Regions from separate parts of the Homo sapiens genome. Here region 1 is linked to region 2. Evidence: promoter capture Hi-C in human tissues and cell types (Jung and others, 2019). All regions are on one chromosome and are shown on one strand. The core of a region is centred on a gene start or on the middle of the fragment in contact, and the rest is flanking DNA. Distances in the headings are between cores, read along the strand shown. Region 1 overlaps HK1 (hexokinase 1). Region 2 holds the start of HKDC1 (hexokinase domain containing 1).

What was found. Contacts are between HindIII fragments. The study calls those that stand out against the background at their distance.
Region 1: a contact is called between a fragment that was not itself captured here and the fragment with the promoter of HKDC1 in region 2, in 4 of the 25 tissues and cell types used here (heart right ventricle, mesendoderm cells, stomach and 1 more).

The regions. Positions count from the first base shown.
Region 1 is chr10:69,349,384-69,354,730 of GRCh38, forward strand. All of the region lies in intron 2 of HK1 (hexokinase 1), which reads left to right. Among named protein-coding and RNA genes, the nearest start is that of HK1, 33 kb to the left of the region's middle. The HindIII fragment of the contact is 8,896 bases long and covers 1-5,347 here.
Region 2 is chr10:69,217,327-69,222,167 of GRCh38, forward strand. It overlaps HKDC1 (hexokinase domain containing 1), which reads left to right and starts at 3,006. Exons shown (of 18, transcript NM_025130.4): 1 at 3,006-3,172. The coding sequence starts at 3,110. The region is part of intron 4 of LOC101928994 (a long non-coding RNA gene); the gene reads right to left. RefSeq lists an enhancer at 863-1,032. The HindIII fragment of the contact is 7,476 bases long and covers 1-4,841 here.

The DNA.
Region 1 (5,347 bases), core at 76-2,575, 130 kb after region 2:
GTTATGGTGCGTCATCGTCATCCTCATCAGTCTTATGATATAATAACTGGCTTTGGAAGAATTCCTTGGGAAAGTCTTTCCTAACCAATGGAGCCAGTCCAAGGACCGCACCCAGCAGGCCTGAATGTGTAAGCCGAGCCCCTGCAGGAAGGATGCAGAGTTTTTCAGGATTCGCTGGCATCTCTGTGATGTTACAGGGGAAGGAGGCAGAGAAAAGGGGCAAGCCAAGGCAGGCTGTCTCACCCCCAACCCCTGAGCTAGCCACATAAAATGTGGGTGAGACCACAGGCTACAGCTCCAGTACCTCTGCAAGGGGGTGACTGGACACGACAGCTCTGAATCAGGGAGCCAACCCGAGGTAAAAGGGACTGATAGGTCCCTTTTGTTATGGAGGGCAAGTGGGTATTTGGGGGATTCATTTCCTGACAAAGAATATTGAACTAACCTGGAAACCTTCTGGTTGTAGCTGAAGGAAATCTGACTCAAATTTGTTTAAGAAAAAAAGAGAATTCTAGTTTCCTATAACTGGGAAGTCTCGCTGTGAGTTGACTTCTGTATCTAGGGATTCATCTGTCTCTTACTAGTTCAGTCAGCTCCTTTCCTGTGTGTTGGCTTCATTCATAGGCCATCTCTCCTCTTACAGTGGCAGGGACGGCCCCTGCAGCCCTAGGCTGACCCCTCCCCTTATAGCCAGCGATCTCTGTGCAAAGAGCAGGCCTTGCTCCCCATGGACCTGTGATGGTCTTGGAGAGGGCTGTGATTGGCTTACTTGGGTTATGTGCCCATCCTGAACCAATCACGATGGACAAGATGGGTGACTTGGGATGCCCCTGGATCCCATGCCTGGATTACGCATTGGTACCCCTGGAGCTGGAGTGGGGATTCAGCCCCACTTCCAACCTCATAGGTGAAAAATGGGAGGGTAGTTATCTAAAGAGATGCTGGACATCCAGGAAAGTTTATCAGTTATCTTGTTGTCCTTAACAGACATCATTCCTCAGTGTCTTTTGCCCGGCAGCGTATAGGACCAGCACTTTGGGAGGCCGAGGTGGGCGGATCACAAGGTCAAGAGATCGAGACCATCCTGGCCAAAATGGTGAAACTCCGTCTCTACTAAAAAATACAAAAATTAGTTGGGCGTGGTGGTGCATGCCTGTAGACCCAGCTACTCGGGAGGCTGAGGCAGGAGAATTGCTTGAACCCGGGAGTTGGAGGTTGCAGTGAACCAAGATTGCGCCATTGCACTCCAGCCCGGGCAACAGTGTGAGACTCCATCTCAAAAAAACAAACAAACAAAAACATGAAATAAATAAATGTTTAGGTGAACATTAAAACAGCAAATTAATTAAGTAAAATATTAAAATAAAAAGTACCGATCATTTCATCTCAGTGTAGTATTTGCTTTTGTGCCCCTTTTCCCCCTATGCACAAGTGGTTTATAGTTGTTTATCAGACTGAGCTTTCACTGTCTTCATTAGAGAATGAAGCAAAATAAAACCAAAGCTGGCCGGGCGCCGTGGCTCACGCCTGTAATCCCAGCACTTTGGGAGGCCAAGGCAGGCGGATCACGAGGTCAGGAGATCGAGACCATCCTGGCTAACACAGTGAAACCCCGTCTCTACTAAAAAAAAAAAAAAAAAAATTAGCTGGGCGTGGTGGCGGGCTCCTGTAGTCCCAGCTACTTGGGAGGCTGAGGCAGGAGAATGATGTGAACCTGGGAGGTGGAGCTTGCAGTGAGCCAAGATCACGCCACTGCACTCCAGCCTGGGCGACAGAGCGAGACTCCGTCTCAAAATTAAATAAATAAATAAATAAATAAATAAATAAATAAAACCAAAGCTAGGCCAGGCACGGTGGCTCACGCCTATAATCCCAGCACTTTGGGAGGCCAGGGCAGTCGGATCATCTGAGGTCAGGAGTTTGAGACCAACCTGGCCAAGGTGGTGAAACCTCGTCTCTACTAAAAATACAAAAAATGAGCTGGGCGTGGTGGTGGGTGGCTGTAATCCCAGCTACTGGGGAGGCTGAGGCAAGAGAATCGCTTGAACCCCGGAGGCGGAGGTTGCAGTGAGCCGAGATCGCGCCATTGCCGTCCAGCCTGGGCAACAAGAGTGAGACTCCGTCTCAAAAACAAAAACAAAAACAAAAAAAACAAAACAAAAAAACCCAAAGCTATAAGGAATCATGGAAGTTGAAGAGCCCCAGAAAAGAAGTGTAGCCATTCCTGATGTGCTGAAGTCTCTCTCTGGCCCCCACTTTCCTTGGGGATCCTTGTCCCTGAGTTCTGTCCAGGAGGCAGTTTTCATGGTTATACATTATGGCTTCGGATTCAAATGCTGACTCTGCCACTTACTGGTTGTGCGTTTGGGCAAGTTATCTAACCCCTCTTTACCTTTACTTGCTCATCTGTAGAATGGGCATCCTGACAGTACTGACTTCATAGGGTTGTGAAGATTGAAAATAAAAGGATACGTATAAGCACTTAGTGATTGGTACAGAAAGACTCAGTGAATGTTAGCTGATGGATGGTCAAATAAAATGTTTCTGATATTCTAGTGACTCACCTGCGAGGAGCTACTTCATACTGAATTCAATTTTTTCAGTTATTTCAATTTTTTTTTTTTTTTGAGACAGAGTCTTGCTCTGTTGCCCAGGCTGGAGTGCAGTGGCATGATCTCGGCTCACTACAACCTCCGCCTCCTGGGTTCAAGCGATTCTCCTGCCTCAGCCTCCTGAGTAGCTGGGATTACAGGCACCTACCACTACACCCAGCTAATTTTTGTATTTTTAGTAGAGACAGGGTTTCTCCATGTTGGCCAGGCTGGTCTCGAACTCCTGACCTCAAGTGATCCACCCGCCTCAGCCTCCCAAAGTTCTGGGATTACAAGCATGAGCCACTGCGCCCGGCTGAATTCAATTTTTTAACCTAGTGGTGGTGTAAAGTACTGTTGGAGTTAGGACTCCAATGGGAGCCCAAAGAAAATTCTATATTGATTTGAACAATGCCACAAAGTCGGGGTCAGAATTTCCACCAAATCTATGACACCTGCTTCCCAGCATTCTCCCTTGTTCTCTCTCTTTCCTTTGGACCACAAATAATTTAAAACCAGTGGCTTCATGTGATATATACATATAATGGAATATAATCGGTTCATAAAAAGGAATGAGGTACTGATCCACGCTACAGCATGGATGAGCCTTGAAAACCTTATGCCGGGTGAAAGAAGCCAGACACAAAGGACCTAATATTATACAATTCCACTTATATGAAATGTCTGGAATAGGGGCATCTGTAGAGCAGAAAGTACATTAGTGGTTGCTGGGAGATAGGGAGGTTGGGAGGAAATGGTGAATGGTTGTTAATGGGTATGGAATTTCTTTTGGGATGATGAAAATTTTCTAAAATTAGATAGTGGTGATGGTTGCACAACTCTGTAAATATGCTGAAAACCACTGAATTTTTCACTTTAAAATGGGTAAAAATTGTATGCTATATTATTATATCTCAATAAAACTGTTATTAAAAAAACAACCAACCAATATGTGAAATAATAAGAAATATACATGTTGGTCTCTGCCCCTAGTCTCTAGCATTTAGCTTCTAAAACCCTTGTAATTTCTTGAGCAATACAGGTGCTAGGAGAATCTTTGATCCTGGTCCTGACTCAGAGCTCCTAAATCCCTTGGAATTTCTTGGGTGATAGGAGAGTCTCTTTTGTTCCTTGGTGGGACCCTGGATAGCCTCAGGATGGGGGGCTGGTTGCCAGGGGGAACCAACCATGTGATCAGAGGGTTGCTGTCAGCCCCAACCCCCATGCCGCCTCCAGGGAGGGAGAGAGCCTGAAAATAGAGCGAATAAACCAATGGTCGATGATTTAATCAATCGCAACTGTGTAATGGTGCTTCCACAAAAACCTAAAACAGGCCAGGTATGATGGCTCACGCCTGTAATCCCAGCATTTTGGGAGGCCCAGGTGGGTGGATCGCTTGAGCCTAAGAGTTTGAGACTAGCTTGGGCAACATGGTAAAACCCTGTCACTACACAAAATACAAAAAAAAGTTAGCCAGATGTGGTGGCACGTGCCGGTAGTTCCAGCTACTCGGGAGGTTGAGGTGGGAGGATCGCTTGGGCTCTGGAGGTTGAGGCTGCAGTAAGCTGTGATCATGCAACTGCACTGCACTCCAGCCTGGGTGACAGAGTGTGACCCTGACTCAAAGAACAAACAAACAAAACCAAAAAAAAAAAAAAAAAGCAAAAAGAAGAAAACCTAGAATGACTGAGTTCTGGTAGCTTCTGTCTAGCTGAACACATGGAGGTTCCTGGGTGGCACATCTGGAGGGGGCATGGAAACTCCTGCCCTTTCTCCCATGCCCCTCCCTGTGTATCTCTTCCATCCAGTTCTTCATCTGTATTTATTGTAATATCCTTTATAGTAAATATGTAAATGTAAGTGAAGTGTTTTTTCTGGGTCTGTGAGCTGCCGTAGCAAACTAATGCAACCCAAGGAGGGGGTTGTAGGAACCCCGATTTATAGTGATCAGCCAGAAGCACAGGCCACAACCTGTGCTTGTGACTGGTGTCTGAAGTTGGAGGGAGGGCAGCCTCGTGTGAACGAGCCCTCGACCTGTGGGATATGATGCTATCTCCAGGTAGCTAGTGAAATAATTGAATTGAATTAGAGAGCATGGAGCTGGTGTTCACTGGAGAATTCACTGCAGAATTACTTGCTTGGTGTGTGGGGAAAAACCCACATGCATCCAGGGTCACAGGTGTGTTCTGTGTTGTGGTGAGTAGAGAAAAGGAAAAACATACTCTGGTTTTTCCTCTGTGTGTGTCTCACATGATGGCGTAACTGCTTTGTGCTTAATAAACAGCAAGCAGGGGTGCTGTATTAGTCCGTTTTCATACTGTTAAAAAGAACTGCCTAAGACTGGGTAATTTATAAAGGAAAGAAGTTTAGTTGACTCACAGTTCAGCATGGCTGGGGAGGCCTCAGGAAACTTACAATCATGGTGGAAGGAGAAAAGGCATCTTCCTCACAAAGCGGCAGGAAGGAGAAGTGCTGAGCGAAGGGGGAAGAGCTCCTTATAAAACCATAAGGTCTCATGAGAACCCACTCACTATCACGAGAACAGCATGGGGGGAACCACCTCCATGATTCAGTTACCTCCACCTGGTCTCTTTCTTGATATGTGGGCATTGTGGGGGTTACAACTCAAGATGAGATTTGGGTGGGGACACAAAGCCTAACCATATCAGGTGCCTTGAATGAATGAATGGACCACCAGTCCCTGTGACCAGGCAGCTAATGAGCATTTGCTGAGCTGTCCTGGGTGCCAAGGACAG
Region 2 (4,841 bases), core at 1,756-4,255:
TCAGGCCTGGAATGTAGACGCTAATGTGCTCAGATTAAAAAGGGAATGATGCAATAGATGAAAATCCTCTGGTGTCATTTGCCTGATTAAAATTCCAAAGGCTGCCTATCTGACTCACACAAGCAACCGTGAGATTACAGAGATCTTTGGTTATGGTTTGCATCTTTTGACCACTGGCTACTGTAACCTCTTATCCCTATGTCGAACAAATCAATGACAGTTGGTTCATACTGCACTGCCCAGGTTACATTTTTTTTTTTTTTTGAAATGGAGTCTCACTCTGTTGCCCAGGCTGGAGTGCAGTGGTGCAATATTGGCTCACTGCAACCTCCACCTCCTGGGTTTAAACAGTTCTCCTACCTCTGTCTCCTGAGTAGCTGGGATTGCAGGCACCCGCCACCATGCCCAGGTAATTTTTGCATTTTTAGTAGAGACAGGGTTTCACCATGTTGGCAAGGCTGGTCTCGAACTCCTGACCTCAGGCAATCTGCCCACCTCCCACCTCAGCCTCCCAAAGTGCTGGGATTACAGGTGTGAGCCACTGCGCCCAGCCCAGGTTACTTTTTAAATGGGGGAATTAAATGCTGGGTGTGGTGATGCAAGCCTGTAGTCCTAGCTACTCAGGAGGCTGAAGCCAGAGGATCACTTGAGCCCAGGAGTTCGAATCCAGCCTGGGCAAGACTGGATGGAGTTCAAATCCAGCCTGGGCAAGACAAGATGTAGTGAGACTCTGTTTCTGAAATAAATCAACTAGTGGGGGAATTAGGATAAATAATGTCATCACTTACGGGCAGATGGCCTTCCCAGGATGTTATCCTCAGCCAATGGGGGCTAGGGCCTAGGATGCGCATTTCAGAATACCAACAATTCCACCTGGTTTGGGGCACTGAATGGTTTGGGGAACTAAAGGTTCATCTTTGTTTGCTTGTGTAATAAAGGAGCAAGCTAAAAGTCATAGTCTGAGGGTAAATTGACTGAAAAGGATGGGGATCCTCAATCTGGGAGACAGTTTTAATATGCTTATATCAATCTGAATAAAGCATCTGGAGTAATTTTAACCGAGCCTCCTCTGCATTGTGGGCTTAAGTGAGACCTGATGGCTCGTCCACACGGCAATGGGTAGAGAGCACTGAATTCCAGCTACTCAGGAGGCTGAGGCAGGAGAATTGCTTTAACCCAGGAGGTGGAGGTTGCAGTGAGTTGAGATTGAGCCACTGTACTCCAGCCTGGGCAACAGAGTGAGACTCTGTCTCAAAAAAAAGAAAAAGAAAAACAAATTCTTAACATCCCAACAGAATGCTGCTACTAATAGTTATCAATTGCGTATCTATTGAGTATCTATTGCGTGGAGAAAGCAGGGCTGGAGAGCCAATGCCATGTATTATAGCTGGGCCCTGGAATCAAACTTCCAGGATTGACCCCTTGCTGTCCTGTTTATGGCTTTGTGATCACGTAACCTTTCTGGGCCTCAATTTTTTCATCTATAAAATAAGAGTGGGCCGGGAGCAGTGGCTCATGCCTGTAATTCCAACACTTTGGGAGGCTGAGGTGGGTAAATCGCTTGAGCCCAGGAATTCAAGACCAGCCAGGGCAACATGGCAAAACCCTATCTCTACAAAAATACAAAAATTAGCTGGGCATGGTGCCACGTGCCTGTAGCCCCAGCTACCCTGGGGATTGAGATGGGAGGATCACCTGAGCCCAGAAGGCTGATGTTGCAGCGAGTCATGATTCCACGACTGCATTCCAGCCTGGGGGATGAATGAGACCCTGTCTAAAAAATAATAATAACAAGAGTAATAAAAACAAAATGGGATTGGTAAATGCTCCATCCATGTTAGCCGCTGTTGTTAACGCTGTTGTTATTGGTTTCATTAGCCAGCCAGTGACTGTGGGAAGAGTGCAAGGTTGATTGTACCCATGTATTGGGTGCTTTCTGGGTCCTTCTCATGTCAAGTATGATGAGTGAGAAGTGAGTGAATAAAACATCTCAGTGGCCTGAGACATTTCTCTTTTTTTTCTTTTTTTGAGATGGAGTTTTGCTCTTGTCACCCAGGCTGGAGTGCAATGGCGCGATCTCGGCTCACTGCAACCTCTGCCTCCCAGGTTCAAGTGATTCTCCTGCCTCAGCCTCCCAAGTAGCTGGGATTACAGGCACCTGCCACCACTCCTGGCTAAGTTTTTTGTATTTTTAGTAGAGATGGGGTTTCACCATGTTGGCCAGGCTGGTCTCGAACTCCTGACCTCATGATCTGCCTGCCTCGGCCTCCCCAAGTGCTGCGATTGTTACAGGCGTGAGTCACTGCACCCGGCTGGACTGAGACATTTCTTATCTGTGACTTCCTTCTCTCCAGCAGTGATTCCCAGTGAGCACTGGTGACTTCAGTTCACTCTTTCTCAGGAATATTTTTTCCTGGGTCACTACCTGTGAACTAAAGATTTTCTGGCTTAACACTGTGAATAGGTAAACATTTATTGATCATTTTCTGTTAACCATGGGCTATTAGTTAAGAGATCTGATCTGTCACAAATGGAAGAATCTGCCCCAACATTCTTGAAATCCCATTGACCAGGACAATGTTTAGTTTTAGTTAGTTCAGTGCTTCTGAGGAGCAGGGGGTCACAGAGTTATGCCACTGGCATAAAAAACTAAAGAGAAAAGCCTGGGACTGGAAATTTGCAGAGCAGCTCCACCGGTTGAAAGTTGGCTTTGTTTAGTGCCCAACTTCGCAGAAGATTTTCCTCGGCTGAGTGGGCTTGGCAGAGCCCCGGCTTGAGAGGGTTGCTTAGCAATGAGATTTGGTGGCACCCAATTCTCAAGTAGTCAAGCAACCCATCAATACCCTGCTTCCCCCTCCACTAAACCTCAGCTACCATCCAGAGCCTCCTATTAGACAATCAAGTGTGTGCCAGAGGGAGGGACCAAAGGGGTGGGGTGGGGGGGAGTTTAATCATTGAACCAAGCAGGCTGGAGGTATTTAGTCCGCAACACCTCGCTCCCCAGGAGGTCTGCCAGCCTGGACTGGAAGCGTGCAACACTCCAGAGTCGTAGGAGTGAACACTGCACAGGAATCTCTGCCCATCTCAGGAGAAACCAAACTTGGGGAAAATGTTTGCGGTCCACTTGATGGCATTTTACTTCAGCAAGCTGAAGGAGGACCAGATCAAGAAGGTAAGGAGGACCCACGAAGCTGAGAGATGCCCAGCTCCTTCTTCACGGACAAAACTGATTCCCTTAAAAAAAAAATCAGAAGGGAGTGAAGAGAGCTTATTAGAAAAGATACTGGGAGCATATGACCAGTAAAAGACTCACTGAGGGAAGAGGGAGTAATTCTCCCACACTCCTGGGCATTGCATTACTGTCCTGAACCTTACACTTCACTCGGAACTTCCTGGCAGGTATTGGATGCGGAAGCGGGTGAGGAGGGTGTTTGGAAAGCTTGAAGAGGATTGTGTTTGCTGTAAGGGATGTTTGCTCGGAAAGGCCACAAAGGCGAGGAGAATCATTTTCAAAGAAGTTTTAAGAACTGTTGGAGCAGAAGGCTGGGCGCAGTGGCTCACGCCTGTAATCCTAGCACTTTAGGAGGCCGAGGTGGGCGGATTACCTGAGGTCAGGAGTTCGAGACCAGCCTGGCCAACATGGTGAAACCCCGTCTCAACTAAAAATACAAAAATTAGCTGGGTGTGGTGGCGGGCACCTGTAATCCCATCTACTCGGGAGGCTGAGGCAGGAGAATCGCTTGAACCCAGGTGGTGGAGGTTGCAGTGAGCCGAGATCGCGCCATTGCACTCCAGCCTAGGGGACAAGAGTGAGACTTCATCTAAAAAAAAAGAACTGTTGGGGCAGATCTGTTTGTTCATGTATTTGAAAGCATATAAATGTGGGCAGCAAGAAGGTGTGAGTTGCAATAGACAGTAATTGAAATATCTATTATTGGCACCTGCTATTTGCCAATGGTACACTATTCATGGTGTGCATTATTTTGTCACTTTGCTCAGGGAACTTGTCTACAAAATTCATTCCAAAGTGGGCTGGTTAAAGGTTGCCAAGGGTCAACAGGAGGGAACCAGGGTTCTTTCCAGGCAGCTAAAATGAGCCCAGTCTGCTACTCTGGCCACACCGGCTGGCTGTCACGGCCCTGGGCAAAAAGCATCTCTCAAAGTGCAGATGACAGAAGTCCTCCTAGCAGGAGGACTTAGCCAAGGTCACCAAGTATTTAGGATGGAATGAGGATTAAATCCAAGTTGGCTGACTCTTCCTTCAATGCTTTCTGCTGTGCCATGACTCCCTCCTGCTTTACAAAATGAATAAGGAGGCCAGGCACCGTGGCTCACGGCTGTAATCTGCATACACTGGGAGGCTGAGATGAGCAGATCTCATCTCAAACTTGAGGTCAGGAGTTTGAGACCAGCCTGGGCAACATGGAGCAACCCCATCTCTACAAAACATGTAAAAATTAGCCGGTCATGGTGGTGTGTGCCTACAGTCCCAACTACTCGGGAGGCTGCGGTGGCAGGATGGCTTGAGCCCGGGAGACTGCGCTACTGCACTCCAGCCTGGGTGACAGAGTGAGACCCTGTCTGAAAAAAAAAGGAAAGAAAAGAAAAAAAAAGGCCAAGGATGGTGGCTCATACCTATAATCCCAGCACTTTGGGAGGCCAAGGTGGGTGGATCACCTGAGGTCAGGAGGTTGAGACCACCCTGGCCAACATGGTGAAACCCCGTCTCTACTAAAAATTTAAAAATTAGCTGGGCGTGGTGGAGTGCGCCTGTAATCCCAACTACTCAGAAGGCTGAGGCAGGAGAATCCCTTGAACCCGGGCAGCAGAGGTTACAGTGA